3 separate regions of the Homo sapiens genome follow, and all the other regions are linked to region 2. Evidence: promoter capture Hi-C in human tissues and cell types (Jung and others, 2019). All regions are on one chromosome and are shown on one strand. The core of a region is centred on a gene start or on the middle of the fragment in contact, and the rest is flanking DNA. Distances in the headings are between cores, read along the strand shown.

Evidence for each region. Contacts are between HindIII fragments. The study calls those that stand out against the background at their distance.
Region 1: a contact is called between a fragment that was not itself captured here and the fragment with the promoter of WNT3 in region 2, in 2 of the 25 tissues and cell types used here (IMR-90 fibroblasts and neural progenitor cells).
Region 3: a contact is called between a fragment that was not itself captured here and the fragment with the promoter of WNT3 in region 2, in 1 of the 25 tissues and cell types used here (spleen).

What each region holds. Positions count from the first base shown.
Region 1 is chr17:46,773,129-46,777,448 of GRCh38, reverse strand. It overlaps WNT3 (Wnt family member 3), which reads left to right. Exons shown (of 5, transcript NM_030753.5): 2 at 3,540-3,781. It also overlaps a transcript of LRRC37A2 not described here. Among named protein-coding and RNA genes, the nearest start is that of WNT3, 43 kb to the left of the region's middle. RefSeq lists enhancers at 628-1,303, 3,021-3,165, 2,819-3,474, 3,475-4,132, 4,133-4,320 and a cis regulatory region at 3,086-3,101. The HindIII fragment of the contact is 7,321 bases long and covers 1-4,320 here.
Region 2 is chr17:46,816,498-46,820,331 of GRCh38, reverse strand. WNT3 (Wnt family member 3) reads left to right here and starts at 1,640. Exons shown (of 5, transcript NM_030753.5): 1 at 1,640-1,814. The coding sequence starts at 1,735. It also overlaps a transcript of LRRC37A2 not described here. RefSeq lists an enhancer at 1-585. The HindIII fragment of the contact is 29,146 bases long and covers 1-3,834 here.
Region 3 is chr17:46,852,537-46,856,618 of GRCh38, reverse strand. The region is part of intron 1 of WNT9B (Wnt family member 9B); the gene reads right to left. It also overlaps a transcript of LRRC37A2 not described here. Among named protein-coding and RNA genes, the nearest start is that of WNT9B, 3.0 kb to the right of the region's middle. The HindIII fragment of the contact is 5,707 bases long and covers 1-4,082 here.

The sequences.
Region 1 (4,320 bases), core at 1,310-3,809, 44 kb after region 2:
AGGTGCTCTGCTGGGCTGCGAAGACCCACCTGGGACCCTGAGGGAGGTAACTGGTGAAACCAGGAAGCAGGGAGCCCCTTGGAGAGCTGGGTGAGGAGCCGCCTTGCCAGCATGGGCCCCCCGACTCCTCAGTCCCCCAAGCCAGCCGGCCTGGCTTTCTCTGTGGATATGGCTGTGTGACCTCGCACAAGTTGGTCCTCTTTCACGGCCTCTGCTTTTTCTTTTTCTTTTTTTTTTTTGAGACGAAGTCTCGCTCTGTCGCCCAAGCTGGAGTGCAGCGGCATGATCTTGGCTCACAACAACCTCCACCTCCCAGGTTCAAGCGATTCTCCTGCCTCAGCCTTCTGGGTAGCTGGGATTACAGGCGTGAGCCACCTGGCATGGTCGGCCTCTGTTTTTCATCTGTATAATGGGCTTTGTGCTCCCTTAGGGCTCCTCCTGTGGGTTCTGCTGCTGGACCAGGGCTCAGCCTCCAGTTTAGCTTGAGGGTGCCCAGGCCTGCAGAAGGTGTCAAGCAAGGGCTGGGAGAGGGGGAGGAAGGAGGAGGCAGGAAGGCAACGGGAGGGGAAGGAGGAGGGCAGAGGAAGGGTCTCCGAGTGCCTCTCACTCCCGCCTCAGCTCTCCGCTCCAGTGGTCCCATATAGGGCTCTGGGTCCCAAACACCAGAGGAAGGAGCGGGGACAGCCCAGGCTTCTTCCCTGGGTCTTGTTCCTGAGCTGCCCATCTAGGATGGTGCAAGGCCGAGTTGTCTGCACTGAACTCTCCCTCAGTTTCCCCTCCAGTGATTGCAGGGCTGTGGGGGCAGCTGGCACAGCAGGGCTGGGCTGGAGATGCTGCTTAAGAGCACGGGAGGGGCAGCCTGAGCCCAGAGGGAGGCTCAACGGGGACCTCTGCAGCCTGGCAGACAGGGCAGGGTACTTAGCTCCCTGGCCTCAGTTTCCTCATCTTGGAAATGGGACAATGGCGATGATAATGAAGTTTTTATTACAGACCTGCCGTGAGGATTACATAAGGTAACAGACACAAGCACTCAGAACTGTGTCCAGCACATGATAGGCCCATAATAAACCACAGGGATTATATGATCACTCTAACCTGCTTCTAACAGGGCAGGGGCAGTGCTGTGTGCGCCGTGTGCCCATCAGGGCTCTGGGCTCACTGACTCTACCCACTCAGGCATGTGCTCAGTATGGAGGCCCAGGGTGCAGATGGGCCAGGCCTGAAGCCACCTTCACCCCATGAAGACCCAGGCAGGCACTGCCCAGCAGGCAGGGTCACATAGTGATGACCCCCATGGGCTCTGGAGTCTGACACCCTGGGTTCCAACCAGCAATTCCATAGGAGCTCTGTGGTCTGGGCTGCTTCATCAACCTGCAAGGCTAAGCCATCTGTAAAATGGGGCTAATAATGACCCTACTTTGTGCTGGGGCTATTTTGAGGATTAAATGAGGCAAACCCAAGGAAAAGCCTCTGCTCAGGGCCAGGCACCGGGGAAATCAGTAATTAGCCATTACCACCGATAAATCAGAACTTCTGGGCCGGGCGTGGTGGCTCGCGCCTGTAATCCCAGCACTTTGGGAGGCCGAGGTGTGTGGATCACGAGGTCAGGAGATCGAGACCATCCTGGCTAACATGGTGAAACCCCGTCTCTACTAAAAATACAAAAAATTAGCCGGGCGTGGTGGTGGGCACCTGTAGTCCCAGCTACTCGGGAGGCTGAGGCAGGAGAATGGTGTGAACCCAGGAGGCGGAGCTTGCAGTGAGCCGAGATCACGTCACTGCATTCCAGCCTGGGTGACACAGCGAGACTCTGTCTCAAAAAAAAAAAAAAAAAAAAAAGAACTTCTGGCTGCTGCTTCTTTCTCTTTAGAAAAAGCTCAGTGCTTAAGACCTGGAATGCCTCACAGATGTTACCATCCAAACTCCCAGATCTGGCTCCTCAGTTCCTCCACCCAAAATAAACAAATGGAAAAAGGAGAACCTGCCTCTCCCCCTGACAACTGAGCCTGGAGACAACCAAGGTGGATGGGTAGCATGCCCCTGCACGGTGCCCAGGGAGCTCTGTGCCTTGGAGTCTCCACGAATTGGCCAAGGCCAACATCAAGCTCAAGTATGGAGGAGGGACCCGGGGGAAGGCACATGGCACTCTCTGACCCACCACAGACCAAAAAGCCGTAGGCAAGCTAATTCACTCTCTAAACCTCAGTTTCCTAGTCCAGGAGATAGTGATGTTCTTCATGTTTGGGAATTGATCAGAAATGTTGTATATAAAGTGCCTGGCAAGCAGTAACAGTTGCCAAATGGCAGATGTTTGGCTCGGCCCTGTGTCCAGCCCAGAAGCTTTTGTGTACTAAAAAGCACACAAAAAACCTCACCCTGCCCCATGGGGTCTTCTCCCGGCCCCTCTTTCCGAGGCTTTTGCCCATCACTTTTTGTGGGAAACTTGACTTAGGCCAATGCTGGACCAAAGCCTTGGTCAGTGCTGGACACAGAGGGAGAGGAGATGGGCCCCTTCTTCCAGCTCACACTGCCCCTGGTCATACAGCAGATTGCAATTGTCCTTGAAGGCCACTGACACTCACGGATCATTTTCTCAGGTTCTCCCAGAAAATGTCATTTCTGCTGTTCCTGTGCTGAGGGCAGGGAACGGAAAAGTCGTAATTCCTACCTTGGTTTTCTAGTATTTTAAACTCTTCTGCCCCACCCCCATAAGGTCATTCTTTCTGTTGTTGACTATAAAACCTGAGAGAGTTGATGGGATATTGATTACAAAGCGAGGGGCAGAGGAATGGAGTGAATTGACCAGTCACCTGGTGTTGGGTGTGGGCAGTGAGATCTGAGATCTCCCTTCTGACTCTGTGCTAAACTTGTTTTGACACAAAGCCAAGCTCCAGTCTCTCATGAGAAAAGAGGTGGAGCTCTAGAAACTTCTAGGAAACTGGAAAGATGGTCATGGAGGCCCTGGTAGACAAAGGACTTGGTGCAAGCCAGCAATTCCTTGGGGAGATACTGGGAGGCTCTGGGCTGGGCTGGCACCATCGCAGGGAAGAGGCTGAGGGCATTGCCAAGGGTAGTGTGTGTGTGTGCGCGCGCGCGCGTGTCCCATGAGTCACTGGAAGTGTCCATGTGGCCCCAGTATCCTGGACTGCCTTGGAAATTGCCCAGCCTGATCTCTTCAATGCCCATCAGGGAAGCTGGACCCAGAACCTGGAAAGGACTGGATCTGGGCCCCAAATACCATCTTTCTAGTCCAAACCTCTTTTCATGGCTTTGCATTGCCCCCAAGGGCCCCCACAAGCGGCTTCTGCGGTCCCATCCCCCTGCAAGCTGGATGCAGCCAGAGGGCTGACTTGCGTGGGTCAGAGCTCTGCGCTTTGAGGGGCGGCATGCTCCCGAGGTCAAAGGTAGCACATTCAGGTGCCAGGGCACAGGCCCTCTGCCTCTCCACCTACCCCGGAGGGTTCACAAAGCGGCCATGGTGCCCAGGATGGGCTCTGTGCTTTGTGCCCACAGTGTTACTACCCTCTGTCTGCCTGCAGGTCCCTGGCCCTGGGCCAGCAGTACACATCTCTGGGCTCACAGCCCCTGCTCTGCGGCTCCATCCCAGGCCTGGTCCCCAAGCAACTGCGCTTCTGCCGCAATTACATCGAGATCATGCCCAGCGTGGCCGAGGGCGTGAAGCTGGGCATCCAGGAGTGCCAGCACCAGTTCCGGGGCCGCCGCTGGAACTGCACCACCATAGATGACAGCCTGGCCATCTTTGGGCCCGTCCTCGACAAAGGTACTGCCTTGGGGCTGAGGGGGGGGGAGGGGCTGGGTGGGGGGAGGGATCAGGACTGTATGCCCTTCCACCCCAGTCAGGGTGCCTCTTCTCTGAAGCCAGGGTCCCTCTGGGAGGGTGATAAATTTGGTTGCATGACTGCCACACCTTCCCAGGCGCTGCTGGGGGCTGGGCCGCCTTGAGATGCTCCAGGATCCTGAGGTTTGAGGGCCGACACCAAGAAGGCCACAGACTTCCTTCCTGGCTTTTGCACAGTGGGCGCCTCAGGCTCCTGCTGTGGACATTTGTGACATTTCCCCAATGCTGTGTTAAGTGCTATGCAAATACCGCTTTGGGGTGGGGGTGAGAGCATTGCCACCCCTAGGTCCCTCCCATCTAGAAAGTCCTCAGTAGGTGAGGAAGCTGCCTGGTGCTGTGGTAGCATTGCGTTGCCCCCAAGAGCCCCTCTAGGTTTCTGTTCATCCTCATGCCCTGTCAGCTGGATATGCCCAGGAATCATGGTGGGGCTAGAGGGTGCACTGGCCTCTGGGTAACTTTCC
Region 2 (3,834 bases), core at 391-2,890:
TCCCCTCCCACCCCCTCCAGTCCAGCAATGGGCTGGGAACGCAGCAGGAGCCATGACAAGCCCAGGCGGCTCTCCCGACCCTTGGTGCCCCCGAGGCCATTTCCCCGCGCTCCCTGTGCCGGCAGCAGCCGCGTGCGGAGAGGGCTCGCCGACCAGAAGGGGCAGCAGGTTGGAGCTGTGGGTACGGGGGGCTCAGATCAAAGGCCAGGAATGTCTGGCCCCCTGGCGTAAGACTTCCTTCAGCCATGGCCCTCACCTCGTGGAACGCCCGCCGTTCCAGGCCTCTGTGGGACTCGGGTCGGCTCATTCTCTGCCCTTTCTGCCACAGTTCCCTACACAGCGGTCCCTGCTCCCCACCGGCAGTGCTTCCTTCACCCCAGACCGGGGCTGCGCAGAGTCCTGGTGCCTCAGGTGGCCTGGGAGGGGGCCTAGGGAAAGGCACCCAGGTGACCGGGCGTGAGTCCCCAAAACCTGACCATGATGTCAATACCACCCAGGGCTGAGACCTAATTCCTCGCTCTGGAGAGGGAGAGGAGAGGAAGCAAGCCCGAAGGGGGCCTGGAAGGACTCCTTTCCTGTGGGGAGGGGTGGGTAACTGGAGGCATTTGGTGTCCGCACAGGGCAAGGGCCTTTATCGCCAAACCCCAGGCTGGAGCTCCCTATCAGTAGAACCGGGGCCTCAGGCGGGACGGTCGGGCAGTGAGGGGCGCTCCGGAGGGCAGCAAGGTCTTCCAAGGACCTGGGCCGCCCTCGGCCAGAGCTGCGCGTTTCACCGGTCCCTGATGGTCCAACCGAGAATCCCACTGAGGCTGTGGGTCACGCCTCCGACCCGGGCCAGAGGTCGGGCCTGAACCCCTCAAGGAGGAGAAAGTGACCCGACTCCGAGAGCAGGAAATGCGACTGGCCGCTGGTGTCAGTTGCAGGAAATGCAAAGGCAGCAGGAGGTCCCGATACCGATCTGATCCCTGACAAAAGACTCAAATGACACTCGGCTCCGTCCCCCGGCGCCGCCCGCAGCCAGACCTTCGAGCCTCCGCGGACTTTTCCGCACGTTCCTCGGACACCCGGGAAGTGACCTCCCGCGGCCAGGACGAGAGGCCAGAGAGCGGGCGGACTCGGGAGGCTGGAAGCTGGGAGGGGGTGCGTTCCCCCACCCTCTGATCCTGACCTGCCCGAGCGGGGCTTCTGGAAACATCCCTGTGCTTTCTACCCTCGATTCCTCGCGGGCCCACGTCCCAACGGGTCACGGTCCCCGCCAGCAAAGGAGCCACCCGTTCATGCCCACGCCAAGCCCTCGCCATGTGAACGCCCGGGTCAAAGCCCCCGCGCCCTAACCCTGGCCAGCGGGGGACCGCGGCGGTAGCAGAGGGTCCGGCCCACCGCGTCCCCCCGAAGCCCCGCGGCGTCCGGGGCGCGGGCTTTGCCCAAGTTTGCTGGGCGATGCCCTTCCCGGAGCCCGAGTTGTGGGCCGGGCGGGAGGGGCGCGTGATTGACAGGCTGAACTACAGACTCATCTCTTACCTTAGGCCGCGGGCGCTGATTGGCTGCTCGCTGACATCCTCAAACCCGGCTGCTCCGCGCTGGGCTCGGGAGGGGGGCGGCTGCGGGTGGAGGTGCGCTTCTGACAAGCCCGAAAGTCATTTCCAATCTCAAGTGGACTTTGTTCCAACTATTGGGGGCGTCGCTCCCCCTCTTCATGGTCGCGGGCAAACTTCCTCCTCGGCGCCTCTTCTAATGGAGCCCCACCTGCTCGGGCTGCTCCTCGGCCTCCTGCTCGGTGGCACCAGGGTCCTCGCTGGCTACCCAATTTGGTGGTAAGACTCGCCTCTTGTCTGCCCGCGGCCCGGTTTCTCCGCCGCGTCCGGGGAAGGTGGGGGCGCCGGCTGGGGGTGGGCCGCTGCAGGGCTGGGGCTCCTCTCCTCGCCTCCCTCCAGCCCCCCACCCGCCCACCCCTCCTGGATTTTCTGCTGGTGTCGCCTTCAGAATCCAACTCCTGGCTCCTCTGATAATCACCATTTTCCCTGCTCCCCGCTGCAGGGGCTGGAGGACTTTTCCCATCTCAGAAGGTTTCTTATTCTTAGATCCTAACCCTCTGCCCGTCCCAATCTAGAGGCCCCCGAAGACCCCCCATTTGCTTGCAGTTGGGTTTCTGGAAATCCAGCACTGTCCCTGGGGCCCAGCCACTCCTCTTCTCCATTTTGGGGTCTTCATGGGCAAAACCATCCTGTTCCTTCACTGCCACCCCACCTCTGCCGGCGCCTCCATCAAGAGATTCCCCATAATAACCCCCCTTTGCCTTCCTATTTCAGACCCCAAAGGCTTCAGGGCTCCTCCCGGGGCAGGGGAGTGGGTGGGGGGATTTCATCAGATTCTCCCCACCGCTCTAGATTCATCTTGAGCCTCTGAAGTGAATATGGTATTTGCTGATCCGGGATGCCATTGAATTCGGATTTTATTCATTTCTTGCTTGTCCACCCTGGCAAAAGGGGGGTTCCTTGAAAATGTGTTGTCTGGGAGGGGTAGGCTTGTTGTTCTTTGACCAAAAATCCAATTCTCCATGTCACATTTCTTCCTTTTGGAAAACCGAGGACCGAGGAGAAAGGGAGAGGGAAGGGAGAATTCCGTCCCTGAGAAATGTGGATACAAAAGACATTTTAGTAAATAAGACTGGGAAGCCGGGAGCAGTGCTTGGGGGGGGCTGTGCGTGTCTGGGGGGCCTGGGTGAGGAATAAACATCGCTTTGGGAGCCCCAGCTCCAGGAGTCCCCTTGTTTTCCGAGCGGCCCCATCGCCGCTCTCCCACCCTCCGCAGGTCCCAGGGGCCAGAGGGGAAGACACTGAAACCAGTTCTCTAAATTACACTCCGCCTCTCCCCAGTCTCCAGCCCCCTACATTCCGGAAAACTTTAATTAAAGAATCTTCCCCTCCTGGACATAGGAGAGCCTTGGCCTGGGCGGGGGGAGGTGAGGAGGAAGAATTTGGGATCTGTGAGTGAGAAGTGGGCTGTGGCCCCCGGGGTGAAAGTCAGAAAGAAGTGCCACCACGGTGCGGTACCGCCTGCAGGTCCCCAGACTCCCTGCCTTTCGCCAACCCAGAGTCCAGGGTAGGAGGAGCAGAGACAGCGAGACTTGGGGGCCACACCCCGAGTCTTCCAGTTGTTTGGGGATGGCAGCATTTGTGTCTGGGTGTTTGGGGCTCCTGGGAGAGAGGGTGGGGACATGGCCAAGGGTCTCTGTTTAGAGGGTGCTAGGAGTTGCTCCCAGGACAGCCAGCCAAGGGGAAGTCTTTCTTCTGCCCAACCCACACTTTTCCGGGGGGCTGGGCTAACCTGAGGCTTCCAGCACATAAAGAAGTCCATGGGGTGGCCAGGGCAGCCAGGGACTTCAGGAAGGAGGTTCGGCCAGTCTGGGGAAAGGCTGCTGCCAACACCAGTCCAGCCTCACCCGGCCATTCCTGACCCTCTTCCCATTCCCGGGCCAAGGCCATGCCGTTTTTCGCCTTGCTTTCGCAGAGACTCTGGTGGGTTGGGGGAGGGTAGGAAGGAAAGGTTTGGCGGCCCATAGGTGGCAGGGACTGAGGAAGAGAGACCAGTCTCTCCGGCCCTATGAACTAGAAGAGGGCACTCTTCCAGTTGGTGTAGATTCTGGTGTGAAATGGTATCTTGGGGACCATCTAGATAGGGATTGCCCAATAGGAAGAAACGCTGGGGAAACCTGGAAGGTCAAGACATTGGCCCTAACATAATGCTAGACACATGGCTTGTTTGGGAATTTGGTGGGGGACAGGAATGCTGCTTTGTCTAAGCCAAGGAGAGAGGTGTGTGTGTGTGTGTGTG
Region 3 (4,082 bases), core at 20-2,519, 37 kb before region 2:
CCATCTACTTGAGAGGCTGAGGCAGGAGAATCACTTGAACCGGGAGGCGGAGGCTGCAGTGAGCCGAGATTGCACCACTGCATTCCAGCCTGGGCGACATAGTGAGACTCCATCTCAAAAAAAAAAAAAAGAAAGAAAAAGCATGCATTTCATTGTATATAACAACGATTTGGGGGGAAAATAAAGATTATGTTTTGTTTCTCCAATGGAATTATAGTAATGACACTTCCACCACCTGGGATGATGTTTAGAACCCCAGCATCCACTGAGAGTGAGCCTGGACTGAGCACTTAGCACATATGTGCCAGACACCCTATCCAGCCCTTTCATTCATTGTTTCAATTAAGCCTCACCCTCACCTCTCAGATAGGTATTCTCATAACCCAAAGCTCAGCAAGGTTAAGACATTTGTCTAAAGTCACACAGTTAGCAACAGGCAAAGCTGGGATTCACTGTCTTGGGCTTTCATAAACTTCTCTGTACTATCCCTAGAGAGGAAAGAAACTCAACCAGTGCAGAGGTCACACACTGAAGAAACATCACCAAAGTTAATTATGATTTAAAAACTTGCATCCACAGAAACTATTTCTAGTTACAAAGCCACTCGGATAACTTACAGACTGGACTGGGGGCCGGGCATGGTGGCACACACCTATAAGCCCAGCAGTTTGGGAGGCTGAGGTGGGTGGATCATTTGAGGTCAGGAGTTCCAGACCAGCCTGATCAACATGGTCTCTACTAAAAATACAAAAATTAGCCAGGCATGGTGGCACATGCCTGCAATCTCAGCTACTGGGGAAGCTGAGGCAGGAGAATCTGTTGAACTTGGGAGGTGGAGGTTGCAATGAGCCGAGATCACACCATTGCACTCTAGCCTGGGTGACAGAGCGAGACTCCGTCTCTAAATAAATAAATAAATAGACTGGATTGGGTAACTGGGCCTGTCTTGTGCCCAGCTCATCACATAATGCAGTGCATTTTCATTTATACAACATCACAGAAGTTAACATTTGTGGAATTCCTAGGCATTCAAAGCCAAAATAAAAACTCTTCAGCAATCCTAGACTTCCAGAGCCAGGACCAGCCCTGTTAGCATTAGGGAACCTTAGCACCTCCAGGTGCTACTGACCTTGGAGATGAGTGACTTGATCAGGGACAACACAGAGAGTGTCCCAGAGCCAGGACTAGCTTGGACCCTCACCTCTGGTCCGCCTCCTGTCCCACTGCCATCATGCTGTTCTGTGAGCCAAACTGACAGTCTAGCAGGGGTCAGTGCAACCCGTCTCACTACTGAGGACAGAAAAGAATGTGCGGCCTTATCCATCTCACTACAGCCAAGAGAGTCTAAAAGAGTCAATTAAGCAGGGAAGGGAGGCTCCCTCCACCCTCACCCCCTTCGGCCTCTCTGCAGCCACTGCTGCCCTGGGGGAATCATACTGTCTTAGCACTGGAGGCTGTTCCTGTAGGTTGAAGGGCCCAGACTGGAAGCAGGGTTTCTATTCAACCTCCCCCACCGATTCACTGTGTAACACTGGGTGACTGACTGAACCTTTCTGACCTTCAGATTCCTTGTGGGAACTATTTACACCCATCCTACATGGCTCTGGAGAAATGGCTCTGAGGATCAGATGAGAGAGATGGCTGTATGAGAAAGTGATGGGCTGGGCATGGTAGCTCATGCCTGTAATCCCAGCACTTTAGGAGGCCCAGGCAAGTGGATCACCTGAGGTCAGGAGTTCAAGACCAGCCTGCCCAACATGGTGAAACCCCATCTCTATTAAAAATACAAAAATTAGTGGGGTGTGATGGGGGGCACCAGTAATCCTAGCTCTCGGAAAGCTGAGGCAGGAAAATTGCTTGAGCCCAGGAGGTGGCGGTTGCAGTGAGCCGAGATCATGACACTGCACCCAGCCTGGGTGACACAGCAAGACTCCATCTCAAAAAAAGAAAAAAGAGATTTGTAAACTGCAATACTAGTTATGTTTTTTTTTATCACCATTAACAGAATTAGGCTCTAGGCTCACTCAAAAGCAGCAGAACCAACAGCTGGCTCACTGTGGTTTGGGGTTTGGGGGTTGCCTCATCTGAAAAATTGGGATAATAATACATCCTGCTTGAAGCAGTGAGTTTTGGACCAGAGATCCTTCTGGGGTCACTTCCAACTCTGAAGTCTACGATTCTATGATTTCAAAGAGCCCAAGAAGATCGGCCTCACCTGCCCTCCTGATGTTTGCATATTCTCTTATCAGGATGCCAAAGCACTTTGTGTTATAATCAAATGCAAATGACTGCGGAGGAAGAAGCGCTTTGCCTCACTTTCCCACTACAGTGTAGATGACTGATACCAGATTCCTCCCAGACAGCGAATGCAGATGGGAAGCTGGGAAACCTGGTCTGAGTCACCAGAGGGTTTCTTAACTGAGAGCTCAGGCTGAATCCTGTCTGTTCCCTGAGACCAAACACTTAACATCATGAGGCCCCAGTTTTAGCTGATTCTCTGAGCATCTGTCCTGCTCCCCAGATTGGGGTGGTGGTGGCTTTTGTGTCTTTTGTCAGCTCTTTCCAGCTGGGCTCCTGACCTGGAAGAGGTGGCTCCGATACTCATCCCTCTCAGCCCTAACCCAGGCCTATTTGACCATCTCACATGTCATTTTCAAGGCTGCTCCATGCTCAGTTCCCTCAAAATTCTAACCCCATGCACTGCTGAGAACACCTTTCCCTTCCAATACAGCAGCTAGGGTGGTCCTCCTGGAACCCCTCTCCTCTCATCTCACCTGACTCTTGCCCCATCTCTAACCATAAAAACCAAGCAAACAAATGAATCGTGGAAATGAGCCAGTGTGTAAGAGGATATAGGTACCATTTGTCCCATCCCTTTCCATTCCAGCTCAGAAAACTGTTAGGGCCAGGACATCAAGATTCTATAACTGGTTTCCTTAATGAAAAAAACTAGCCAGGCCTGGTGGCTCATGCCTGTAATCCCAGCACTTTGGGAGGCTGAGTTGGGCAGATTGAGATCAGGAGTTCGAGACCAGCCTGGCCAACATGGTGAAACACTGTCTCTACTAAAAATACAAAAATTAGCTGGGCATGGTGGCACGCGCCTATAGTCCCAGCTATTCAGGAGGCTGAGGCAGGAGAATCGCTTGAACCCATGAGATGGAGGTTGCAGTGACCCAAGATCACATCACTGCACTCCAGCCTGGGTGACAGAGGGAGACTCCGTCTTAAAAAAAAAAAAAAAAAAAAAAAAAAGTCACTAGCATTAGTTGAGCACTTACTGCATGCTAGACACTGTCCTAAGTGCTTTACATGTACTAGCTCAATCTTCTTATAAAATAGGCAGTATAATCTTCATTTTACAGATTGAGAGACTGAGAGACAGAGAGGTTAAGTTAAGTGACTTGGCCAAGAGCACACCTAGCAAGTGGCAAGACTGACCCCAGAGTCTGTGCCCTAGTGATGATGACATCCTGCCTGCCGAGGGAACAACCATTCCTTCAAGCCTGAAATCTTCGGAAACAAACAAGTTGTGCACTGCTGTTGGGGTGGATCGCAAAAGGATCAGTCATATCAAGTTCAACCCCTTCTTTGTACAAAAGGAGAAAGTGAGGCCCAGAGACTGAGTGGTCTTCCCATATCATTAGCAAGCTAAGCCCAGAGCTAGGGTCTGGGATGATACCCTCCTCCACAGCCCAGACATGTTTCCACCAGGGGTCATGACCTGGAAATTAGCCCACAGCCCTTACTCCAACCTGTGCAGAACTTCTCAGACCTTTACATACCTCTCCCTGGCTACTTCTTCAAAGCAGCCTCTAGCAGGTCACTTGCTTGGTGTTTTCTTGCCTTTGCTGTATATACTCAGACTGTAAGCCTCCTATTGATTTGGGGTGAAGATTTTAAAAGGAGGCAAGGCTTAAAGTAACAGGCTGTACATATTGGAGTTGGCTTTGGGTGGATGGTGGGAAGGTGCCTTCTTACCCATGATACCCGCCCCCATCCCTCACCAAATCCCTGCAATTCAGGGTCAGAGAAGAAGGGACTGGAAACAATTGCCCTATAACTTTTGCTCCAAACATTCC